Linked DNA regions of Homo sapiens: regions 2, 3 and 4 are each linked to region 1. The links are contacts of gene promoters, found by promoter capture Hi-C in blood cells and fetal thymus (Javierre and others, 2016). All regions are on one chromosome and are shown on one strand. Each heading gives the region's core, a stretch centred on a gene start or on the middle of the fragment in contact. The rest is flanking DNA. Distances are from core to core; before and after follow the strand shown.

Evidence for each region. Contacts are between HindIII fragments. The CHiCAGO score rates a contact against its expected background, and 5 or more counts as called.
Region 2: a contact is called between a fragment that was not itself captured here and the fragment with the promoter of SGPP1 in region 1, in 1 of 17 cell types (M0 macrophages). The highest score is 5.1, in M0 macrophages.
Region 3: a fragment that was not itself captured here is called in contact with the fragment with the promoter of SGPP1 in region 1 in 2 of 17 cell types (megakaryocytes and fetal thymus); the score reaches 5.9 in megakaryocytes.
Region 4: a contact is called between a fragment that was not itself captured here and the fragment with the promoter of SGPP1 in region 1, in 2 of 17 cell types (M2 macrophages and M1 macrophages). The highest score is 7.3, in M2 macrophages.

Annotation. Positions count from the first base shown.
Region 1 is chr14:63,726,692-63,729,391 of GRCh38, forward strand. SGPP1 (sphingosine-1-phosphate phosphatase 1) reads right to left here and starts at 1,374. Exons shown (of 3, transcript NM_030791.4): 1 at 570-1,374. The coding sequence starts at 1,253. RefSeq lists enhancers at 520-1,021, 666-715, 1,676-1,865 and silencers at 976-1,075, 1,366-1,465. The HindIII fragment of the contact is 15,620 bases long and covers 1-2,700 here.
Region 2 is chr14:64,415,767-64,418,466 of GRCh38, forward strand. It overlaps MTHFD1 (methylenetetrahydrofolate dehydrogenase, cyclohydrolase and formyltetrahydrofolate synthetase 1), which reads left to right. Exons shown (of 28, transcript NM_005956.4): 7 at 2,122-2,258. Among named protein-coding and RNA genes, the nearest start is that of MTHFD1, 29 kb to the left of the region's middle. The HindIII fragment of the contact is 632 bases long and covers 935-1,566 here.
Region 3 is chr14:64,298,266-64,300,965 of GRCh38, forward strand. It overlaps a transcript of ESR2 not described here. Among named protein-coding and RNA genes, the nearest start is that of ESR2, 5.2 kb to the left of the region's middle. The HindIII fragment of the contact is 3,583 bases long and covers 1-2,700 here.
Region 4 is chr14:64,465,851-64,468,550 of GRCh38, forward strand. It overlaps AKAP5 (A-kinase anchoring protein 5), which reads left to right. Exons shown (of 2, transcript NM_004857.3): 2 at 2,282-2,700. The coding sequence starts at 2,545. It also overlaps a transcript of ZBTB25 not described here. Among named protein-coding and RNA genes, the nearest start is that of AKAP5, 1.7 kb to the left of the region's middle. The HindIII fragment of the contact is 183 bases long and covers 1,160-1,342 here.

The DNA.
Region 1 (2,700 bases), core at 124-2,623:
AAACAGAACTCACCCTGTGCTCCATTAACTTCCATAAAGGGAACTTCGATGAAAATCGATTACTTCATTGCTTGGAACTAGCATGTTTGTTTTGGAATTACACTAACGTTTTGTAAACACTGTCTCACGGTAAAGCTAATGACTTTACCTCTTTCTGAAACAGTTTTAGGGAAGAAGGCACCATATATTACGGTGAAACTGGGTCTTAGTTTACATAGCGATTATTTAAAAAATTCACTTCCACTGTGCATTACAAGAATTAAAGCCGTTTAAAAAACTCAACCAAAGCCCAATGACAATGTATTACTCTAGGAAAAGTGTGTCCTTTGGGTTCTAAGGCATTAAATTGGAATTTAATATTAAAATAGAATTCAACGGCTAAGTATCCAGTTTCCCCCAATCACTTAATTTTTCAAAACCCAGAAAGGGCCTGTTTGCGAGTATTGTGAAAACCTGTGGAAAGAGAGGCTTTGGAGGGGAACGGTCGAATTAAAATAAATGCAGAGAGCAAAGAGAACTCCGAGTTCTTTGAACTCCCCCAGGCTGAACAGGACGAGAAGGAACCCTACCTGCCAGCGGCCATAGGTGAGGAGGACCATAGAAATGGGGATGGCGGTGCCGGACATGGCATGGGTGGAGGGCATGCTGTACTCAGAGTTGTAGAAGACCTCCAACTTGACCACGGGCGGCGAGGCGGGCCTCGGCCAGCGGATGATGTCCTTGGTGCACTGGCCCAGGTACATGACCAGCACCCAGATGACCACGAGCCTCCGGCCCACCAGAGGGTCCAGGTTCCAGATCCAGAAGGGGAAGAACAGGATGTAGAAGAGTTCGTTGCCCAGCTCCGTGCCGAAGCAGAACAGGCAGTAGAGCGGCCAGTTGCTCACGCGGGCCAGCTGGCCCTCCTCGCCCGTCAGCGAGTTGCGGCGCAGAGCGCCCGCGCGCCGCGGCGAGGCCGGGCCCAGCTCGGCCGCCAGCCCGTTCCGCACGCCGTTGGGGGCGCCGCCGCCGTCCGGCTTGGCCGGGCACTGATTGCGGTCGCTCCCGGGAGGCTGGGGGCCTCCAGGCGCCCCTGGCTGCCGCCCTCGCAGTCGAGGGTCTCCGGCGAGAGGCGCCTCCGCTTTCTCATCCTCCCTCCGGTCTGCTGAGCGGCGCGGCGGCGCTTCCACCCCGCACAGCCGCTGGAAACGGGCCACTTTCTGCGGGTCCTGCAGACGGCCAACCAGCTGGGCCAGGCGCTGCCTCAGCGACATGATAACGGAACCCCCGGGAAGGCGGGCCGGCCTCCGGCGCAGCCCCGAACTGTCCCCGCGCTCCTGGCCAGCGGCAGCGGAACCGGCACAGCGCTCTACCCTCCGGAGTCTGCCGGGTGACGGCGCCACAGGCCGCGCGCCCCCGCCCCGCGCGCGCCGCGCCCCGCCCCGCCCAGCCCCGCCCCCACCCGGGCTCCCTGAGGGGCCGGGCCGCGCGGGTCCGCCCTGAGCGCATCCGGCCGTGGCTTGGCGCTGAGGATCGGCGGGCGGCCGCTTTGAGGTCCCGGGTAATATCCACCAGCAGGCGTCGCGGCGTACGTCTGGTGGGACGCGGCGTGTCCCCCTGCTCCACCTTCAGCCCTTCTTCTCCGCGGGCTAGTGTCGCCGGATTCCCTCAGCCAGAAGTTGACTTAAAGAGGCCACGATCCCGGTGCCAGCTTGCGCAATGCCTGTGACCAAGCAGCCGGGCATCCTGCTGGCACAGAACCAAATGGTGAATGATCAATGAAGGCGAAGCAACTACCATGAGTTCGGAATCATTCGACTCAAGTAATTAACAAGTAATTACAGAGCTGTCCCAGGCGACTGATGTTCGGAAAACCATGTGCCAATTGACCAGTGGTGACAAGACTACATGTAGATCCCAAGACAGGGCCAGGTGATATTAACAGGTGTGGTCTGCAAAAGAAAAGCCAGCCACCTACAAATTCAAAATACTGTGTCATTTATCAAATATTTTGGTATATGTTAAGGGAGCACAGGTGTTCTTAAGTGTAAAATTTCCTTTTCCTAGATTCTAATACCTAGAGGGCTTGCACAGAATAAATGTAGAGAATGAATGCAGTGTATAGATTTTTGAGTTTGGTAACGTTAATTTAGACGCTTAACTTCCGTGTCTCACAAGTTACCAACTTGACTTCTAGCTAGAGCAGTTTATAAGGTCTCTGAACTCCTCAGGTCAGGTGAATGTCTTTTATATATACCTAGAGAGAGAGAGATGAGACAGGGTCTCGCTATATTGCCCAGGCTGGTCTCCAACTCCTGGGCTGAAGTGATTCTCCTGCCTTGGCCTCTCAAAGTGCTGTGTTTACAGGCGTGAGCCACCACACCCGCCATGATCAGGTGAATGTCTGTAATTAAAGAATGTGAACTACTTCCAAGAAACAGGCTTGAAATTGTCCCATGCCCTTAAAACAGTAGAAATACTTTCCTTCAGGCGTGGTAGTTCATGCCTATAATCTCAGCACTTTGGGAGGTCGAGGAGGGAGGATGGCTTGAGTCCAGGAGTTTGACAACAGCCTGGGCAACATAGGGAGATCCCACCTCTACAAAAAATGAACAAAATTAGCCGGGCAGGGCTGGGCACAGTGGCTCACGCCTGTAACCCCAACACTTTGGGAGGCCAAGGCGGGCGGATCACCTGAGGTCGGGAGTTCAAGACCGGCCT
Region 2 (2,700 bases), core at 1-2,500, 690 kb after region 1:
AAGCACCATTTCCTGAATCCTGGTCTTGACATGTGGTGGCATAGAGGAGGTACATTGTGGGCCATAAATAAATGGACTTGATTGGCAGAAGGGCCTGTCTACTAAGGATGTTACCTAAATTTTCTCTCAATTTTCTCAGCAACTCTGTGAAGTAGGTACTGTTATTGTTCAACTGCTAAGAAAATAGGCTCAGGCCAGGCACAGCGGCTCATGCCTGTTATCCCAGCACTTTGGGAGGCTGAAGCGGGCTGAGATCACCTGAGGTCAGGAATTCGAGACCAGCCTGGTCAACATGGTGAAACCCTGTCTCTACTAAAAATACAAAAAAATTATCCAGGCAGGGTGGCATGCACCTGTATTCCCAGCTATTCGGGAGGCAGAGGTGGGAGGATTGATTGAACCTGGGAGGCGGAGGTTGCAGTGAGCCGAGATCACCTGACTGCACTCCAGCCTGGGCAACAGAGCGAGACTCTGTCTCTAAAATAAACAAACAAACAAACAAACAAACAAAACCAGCTCAGAGAGAGCAAGTAACTTGTCTGGGAGACAACGGAACCAAGATTTGAATTCAGAGTTATCTGAGTTCAAAGCAATTTATTTTAACCTATACAGTAATAAAAATTTGGATAGTTTAAAAGGATATGAAGTGAAAAGCCCCACCTCCCCCCACCCCCAAAATGGGCACTGAATCTCCACAGTAGTTCCAGGACTCGACAGATGGCTGGAAATGGGTCTCCTGCACAGTTGGCCATATTGTCCCGTTACTAGTTAGCACCTTGCTATTTTAATTTCATTATGAATACTTTTAGCAGAGGTTATTTTTTACAAGGAAATGGGTCCTGGTAAAAAGAAGTAGGTCAGAAGTTTCAAGTGGAAAGTTTTGGCCAGCATAAATGAAAATTTTCTGTGGTTGGCAAGAAAAGGTCAAAGGTCAAGCTTTGACAGTTCATTTCTACAGTTAAATGTATATTCTTCAGCATATTTAGCAAACATTGTAGTGCCTTGCTTAAAAGAAAAAAATCCCACGAGGACAGCACCTGAAGGCCTCCCACTGCCTCTTATTGAGTGATGCTACCATTTGCCCTGATGCAGCTTTAACTCTTCTGCTGAATCCTAAAAAGTATAGAAAGTTACCTTTTAAAACTTTGAGGTCTTTACTTCTAGATGTTCATGATGTTCACATTATTATAAGAGTTTATCTTTTTCTGAAAAAAAATGATTTTATGCGAGAAGCACAATTTAAACCCTTGCTGCTTTGAGCAAGGGTCCACTGCCCTCAGCCTTGACTGCCCTGAGGACTCTGATGAAGTCGTCAACTTCTCTCTGCTTTCTTCTTTGTGGACAGCTCATTTTCGGGCTCCACTTTGTGGCCACAAACACCTACAGCCTGGTTCCATCCTCATGCCTAACAGTCATGGGATTGGATCTTATCAGCTGAGGGAAGAAATATGGTCCCCTGTCCACTACTGGGTACTCACTCAGGCTGTCTTTAGTAGAGTATGAGTCAGCCCTGAAAAGGACATTGGTATATTGCCAGAAAAATGGATGCTGTGATAGCAAAAAGAAAGCTTTGCTGCCACAGTTCAATTTCCCCTTTATCACTTCCCTGCAAGTAACCCTATGGCTCAGGCCCTAAGCCAAAAGAGAAATTTGGGTGAGGAACTGTATAAACAAACTTACCAAAGTTAGAAGGAATTACCGATACTAATCTAATTTCTTACACATCTCTCCAGCCTGTTACATACACCCTATTTGTTTTAACTTTTTTTCCCCATGTAATTTAATCTGATGTCTTCTTCCGTATGGCTGATTAGCTGTATGTCAGGGTTTCTTTTTTCTTTGAGTGTAGGTTTTCTTCCCACTCCCCTATGACTCAATGAATGATCTTGGCTTAAGCTGCTCCCAAAAACCCACGGCCAGAAGGACACAAGTACAAGTCCCAATTTATAGCTGAAACCCTAGAGTTGAGAATATTATTGCCAAAGAAGGAATGCTTTTAGGAAGGTTTCTGTTTGATGTTAAGAACCTGTTTTTGTGCACTTATTCTAATTTCTCCACGTGGCATGCGAAGGAGGGCAGCTTCTATCCTCCAACTCTGATGCAGGCTGGCTTTTCTTTCAGGGGTGCCGATTGCCGGAAGGCATGCTGTGGTGGTTGGGCGCAGTAAAATAGTTGGGGCCCCGATGCATGACTTGCTTCTGTGGAACAATGCCACAGTGACCACCTGCCACTCCAAGACTGCCCATCTGGATGAGGAGGTAGGGTGTCCAGAGGAGAGGTAAAGGTGTTACGGTGGGGAGGGTGGGTGTGCCAGAGGCTGCCATGTCCTTTACACTCATGACCTCATTTAACCCCATCATCTCATTTTTACAAGATGAAAAAACAAATTCAAATTAAAGGCTGAGTGGGGTGGCTGACACCTGTAGTCCCAACACTTTGGGAGTCTGAGGCAGGAGGATTGTTTGAGCCCAAGAGTTTTTGAGACCAGCCTGGGCAACATAGTGAGACGCTTTCTCTGCAAAAAAAATTAAAAATTAGCCAGATGGGGTGGGCACATGCCTGTAGTCCCAGCTACTCGGGAGGTTGAGGCAAGAGGATTGCTTGAGCCCAGGAGGTCGAGGCTGCAGTAAGCTACGATCACACCACTGCACTCCAGCCTGGGCTACAGAGCAAGACCCTGTCTCAAAAAAAAAAAAAAAT
Region 3 (2,700 bases), core at 180-2,679, 570 kb after region 1:
TGAAAATTCCCTGGGACTGTCTATTTTACAGATGGGAAAACTGAGGCTCAGAGAGCTAACATTTATTTTATAAAGTCACCCATGTGCATTTGGTAGGGTGAAAGTTTCCACCCAACTTTACCTACCTACCTGCACATCCCATGTTTTCTCCACTGTCATGAGATGCTGTTCTTATTTGTTGCATAAATGGAGGCATGTCTGTCCTGTAGAGCCCAGATACTGTTGAATGAAATGTTGTCAATTTCTTGTCTAGGAATGACCACCTATGAGCATATTTATGTAACTTATTCTTTATTGATCTGCGTTGGACTGGGGCCCTCAGAGGGTAACAAGGACATAAGCAGCAAGACAGACCCAACCTGATACCTGGGCACCAGGACCATGAGACAAGGTTGCTCTGACCTGCAGTTTAAATGAACCACCTGAGCAAGCAGCACCTGCAGCCAACTCTTTCTAAATCACACTCATGTGTTTCAGTCTTGATCTTTGCTATTTGTAAACAAACAGGTAAAAAATAACTTTTTGTCCTGTCCACTGCCCCTCAAAGGTACTTAAATTCCACACAAATCCCTTGCATACCTTAAGTTTCTAATTTTCTATGCATTTGAAATCAAACATGAAGCATACACATTTTTGTCCTTACTTCCAACTCTGCAGCAATTCTCTTGAGCTAGAAGAGAAACTAGCCCCTAGAGGTCATTGGCATGAATGTGAACACCCAGTTAAGAAAAAAAAAAAAAAAAGTTATAGGACTGTTAGAAATGGCGGCAAATTGTAATATGCAATTTCACAAATGACTCAAATGCAATTCTGAAAATGCAGCTTCCTTACATTTTCTGGCTCAGAAGATATTAATAAGTCAGCCAGTGTAATATTCCCTGAAATGAGATAAAAAAAAAAAAGGTACAGACAGACATGGCTTGAGACCATAGATAAGACTGTCTGATTTCATAGTTTAATATTTCAAAAAATATTTCAAAAATTTTGACTAAAGTTTTTTCTACATCTTCTTGTAAATGTATCTAACATTTTCAATTTCTTTGTTCATATCATGGAAAGTTACTATAACTGCCTCATATTGTCCTTTAGACCCATAGCAACTAACTCTCCAGTGATGCTCATTACAGAAATAGCTTTTTTTTTTTTTTTTTTTGAGACGGAGTCTCGCTCTGTCGCCCAGGCTAGAGTGCAGTGGCACAATCTTCCGCCTCAGCCCCCCAAGTAGCTGAGACTACAGGCACCCACCACCACACCCGGCTAATTTTTTTGTATTTTTTTAGTAGAGACAGGGTTTCACCGTGGTAGCCAGGATGGTCTCGATCTCCTGGCCTCCTGATCCACCCGCCTCCGCCTCCCAAAGTGCTGGGATTACAGGCGTCAGCCACCGCGCCCAGCCCAGAAATGGCTTTTATAAAAATACAGACTTGATTTTTTGTGCACAGAGCGTGCTTCTTTCACATATGTCACCGTTTGATCTGATGAACCTAACCAGAGAAAGGAATCGTTTTCTTCTCTCTTATTCAGTCCTCTCCTTTGCTGGGAATTATAAACAGAAAATGAACTTCTCCAAGTAGTTCATGCAGCTACTTAAGGATCACCAATGCTGTTCCATGGGCCAGGATCTCTGCATTCTCCTCTCCCCTCACATTGTTTCTCTTCCTTTTACATTCTCACATATTATTTTTCTACTGTCCAGGCAGTTTAGCTAACTAGCTTCTTAATGGTTCTGCTCATAGTCAAGTCAAGTGCTTCCTCAGCCTGCTCCACGTATTCTACCACGCCACCAGCCACAGCTTACTAGGAGGACTGCTGTCCTGGCATGACACTGGCTTCTAGTTAACAAAGAACTTGCATGGCCACATCATGCTGCATGTTCACACCAACCCTACAATGTTGATTTTATCACCAATTTGCTGACAAGGAAACTTGAGGGTGTTTTCCAGATTTGCACTCATAGGAACACAGGTCATCTGACTTCCATACAGATGCACACCTGCCTCCTTGCAAGAGATTCAGTTTCTGTGTTCCTAGCACTGAGGCTGTCAACATCTGCCATATTGCACTGCTACTATCTCACAGGCCTTTCAACCGGACCCCATCCCTTCCTTCTCATCCTACCTCTACCCTCCCTCATCTCAGTCTAAAATACCACTCAAGGGAGAAAATTCTTAACAACTTCTTTAGTTATTTTCACCTTAAAATTTTTCTGACAGGCTGGGTGTGGTGGCTCATGCCTGCAATCCCAGCACTTTGGGAGGCCAAGATGAGAGGATCGCTCGAGCCCAGGAGTTCAAGACCAGCCTGGACAACATGGCGAAAACCCATCTCTACAAAAAATACAACAATTAACCAGGTGTGGTGGCACCTGTAGTCCCAGCTACTCGGGAGGCTGAGGCTGGAGGATCACTTGAGCCTGGGAGGTTGAGGCTTCAGTGAGCTAAGATCACACCACTGCACTTCAGCCTGGGTGATAGATACCTCATCTTTAAAAAAAAAAATTTTTTTCTGACACTCAGCATTACATTTATTCTTTCATAAAACACTCTTCTTTGAGACTGCATCTTGCCCTCATGCATTTATCTCTTTGTGACAATGCTCCCTTAATGCTTGCAATACCTTAAGTGTCTACCTGAGACACAAGGAAATATGAGGGTGTTTGCTCACAGATGATGAGGAGGAGGCTATAACTACCATTCATTC
Region 4 (2,700 bases), core at 1-2,500, 740 kb after region 1:
TGCCGGTGGCTTTTTTCCTTCTTTATCCCTCTTTGAGAAATGTGATTTTGGGTTTCTGGCCATTACATTATAATTCTGCAGACAGCCTGAAGCTGGGTTATCTGTTCCACGCCCCCGGCATTTTCCTTTTTGAGTACTTTATCCTGCGCTCTGTCTCCTGCCATAAGGGGCGTCAAGCCAGAATTCGAGATTCCTTCCTCCAGGAGGAAGCTTCGTGGTCCGTATCTGGTGCTGGGAAAGATGCATTGCTTTCCTCGGGTACTGGCTGCTCAAGGGAAAAAGGAAAGGGGGTGTTTTCTGTGACATGAGACTTGCAATTCCATCAGGAAATGAGCACAGGGACTTTAAGATTTCCTGAGGCGATAAAGCTACCCTTGCTGGTTAAGAGCGAATCATTTGCAGTCTGACATTCTGCAAAGTTTTATTGTCTACAGACTGCATTATTTTCCCTCGTTAGTTAAGTTTCTGTTTGGGTATTCGTTTTATTTCTAGTATGTGAGATACATTCAAGTGAGCTTCTCAAACGATTGTCTTTGCGCAATCCAGGTTAGTTTCCAATGACAGACTCCTAAACATCTCATTTCAATATTTCTATTATGTGGTAATACAGCCTCTGCTTAACAAAAATGCTCAGGTGCTGAAAACTCACAAGAGGTGAGAAGATTTAAACAGTTATCAGCTTAGGTTCTAGTGCTCACTGAAACATTGTGAGGAGAAACACTGTCAAATGTTCATATTTTAGTTCCGTCATTGTTCTAGAATGACTTTATCTTTCTGTTAGAGGCACACAGTATGAAACACCCAACCTAAGATAATATTTACTTAGATCATAAACTGATTTTCAGGGTTCCAGTTCCTTCTACAGTTCATAAAATTATGGGTTACCCAAATGAAACTTCAGTGAAGGATTTACATAAAAACAATATAAAGAATGAGTCCCTTTGCTTATTTTAGGGCATCCACCCACTAAAATTCATAGGATCTTTGTTGGATAATCACCTCCCATTTCCATTCTTTGGTGCCATCATACCATTCTAAGGATTAAATTTTCAATACACCTTTATATTATCTAAGTTTGCCAATTGCATAGTTTGCCAACTTATTTTTGGCTTTTAAATTAGTTCCTGAACCAAAAAAATAAAATATAAAGAATTTCAAAAGCTTGGTTTTCAAATGACAAGAACTCAGTCTACTCGTGGTTCAATTATGAGTTGATAAGTGCCTTATGGTTAAATGACCATTAATCAATTTTTTAATTTTTTTACTAATGAAACACTGCAGATTAGTATCCCCAAACAATTCATTTTCTGACGAAACTCTTAAAGCCCAGTTTCAGAACATAAGCTTTAAGCAACAAGCAATCTTGTGTTAATCTGAGCTCTGTTACAGCTCTGCCGTAATCTCAGCCAAATTGCTTCATCTGTACGTGGTGATACCACCATCTTTGTAATATTGTGGTGAGGATTAGAGATGTATGTAAAAGTGCATGCACTGCCTAATACCCAAGAATTGCTCAATAAATGTCAGCTATTACTACTCTTACTGACTTCCAACTATGTGCAGATTATGGTGGAAACATGTGATACAGCAGATACAGTACTTAAATGAAAATGTCAAAATTGTACAACTAATTTAAGAGTGGGAAATGACAGTAATGCTAAATTTTCCTAAGAATATGTATGAAAAATAGCACTTCCTTGATGGAACATACATTTTTAGAACAGAAACCTTATGTTATAATGGTAAAACTAGAGAGTCAAAGTCTCTAGTTCTAACTCTGGCTATGACCTTATCTAGTTGCATGGCTTTTGACAAGACAACTGCTCCCCTCTGGAGTTCAGTTTTGTCATCTGGCTGGATTTGAGTAATCTCAAATAATCTCTAAAGTCCTTTGCAGCTTTAAAATTATCTATTGAGTGTGATAAAGATTACATCAGCTTGCTTTTCATCCTGCACTTCATTTTTGGTTCTTGTTGTTTGCTTAACTTGCACTTTAGAGTCATAAGCAATTCACACAGACAACACAACTAAAGAACTGATAATATCAGACTTGCAGGGTAATCCAAAATGAAGTTTCAACAAGGAGGATAAAACAAAATAGAATCACACTGAACTCTTTAATAGGGCCAAAGTAAACCCCAATGTTTATTCTCCAGTCATTTCATTAAGTTATTATATGGAAAATATGCCTGGTAGAATCTTATACATTCACTGAAATAGTCTCCACAGAAAATAATAGGCTCATAGTGAAATAAAATACCACTTTCTTTTCTCTCATCAGGTTGATCTTTAAATAAAGCAAAAATTTATCCAAAGAAGGGCTTTCATCAAGAAATTAAAGAGAGAAATTACAAGCCATAGAGAAACTGGGCATTTCTATACTAGAGAAACCACCTAAAACAACTGTATGGAGTAAGATGAAAGGTATGAATATGCCTGGAAGAAATTTTACCTAGTGTGACATTTTTGCTCATCTTTTTGTCACAAAAGGCTGCTAAGGAAGAGAGAATACAGTTTTCTAGAGAATAAGAGTGCAGTGTAAAAATGGAAACCACAATTTCAGAAATTCATGTAGAAAACAAGGATGAGAAGAGATCAGCAGAAGGTAGTCCTGGGGCTGAAAGGCAGAAGGAAAAGGCATCCATGCTTTGCTTCAAGAGAAGAAAGAAAGCAGCCAAAGCACTGAAGCCCAAAGCTGGC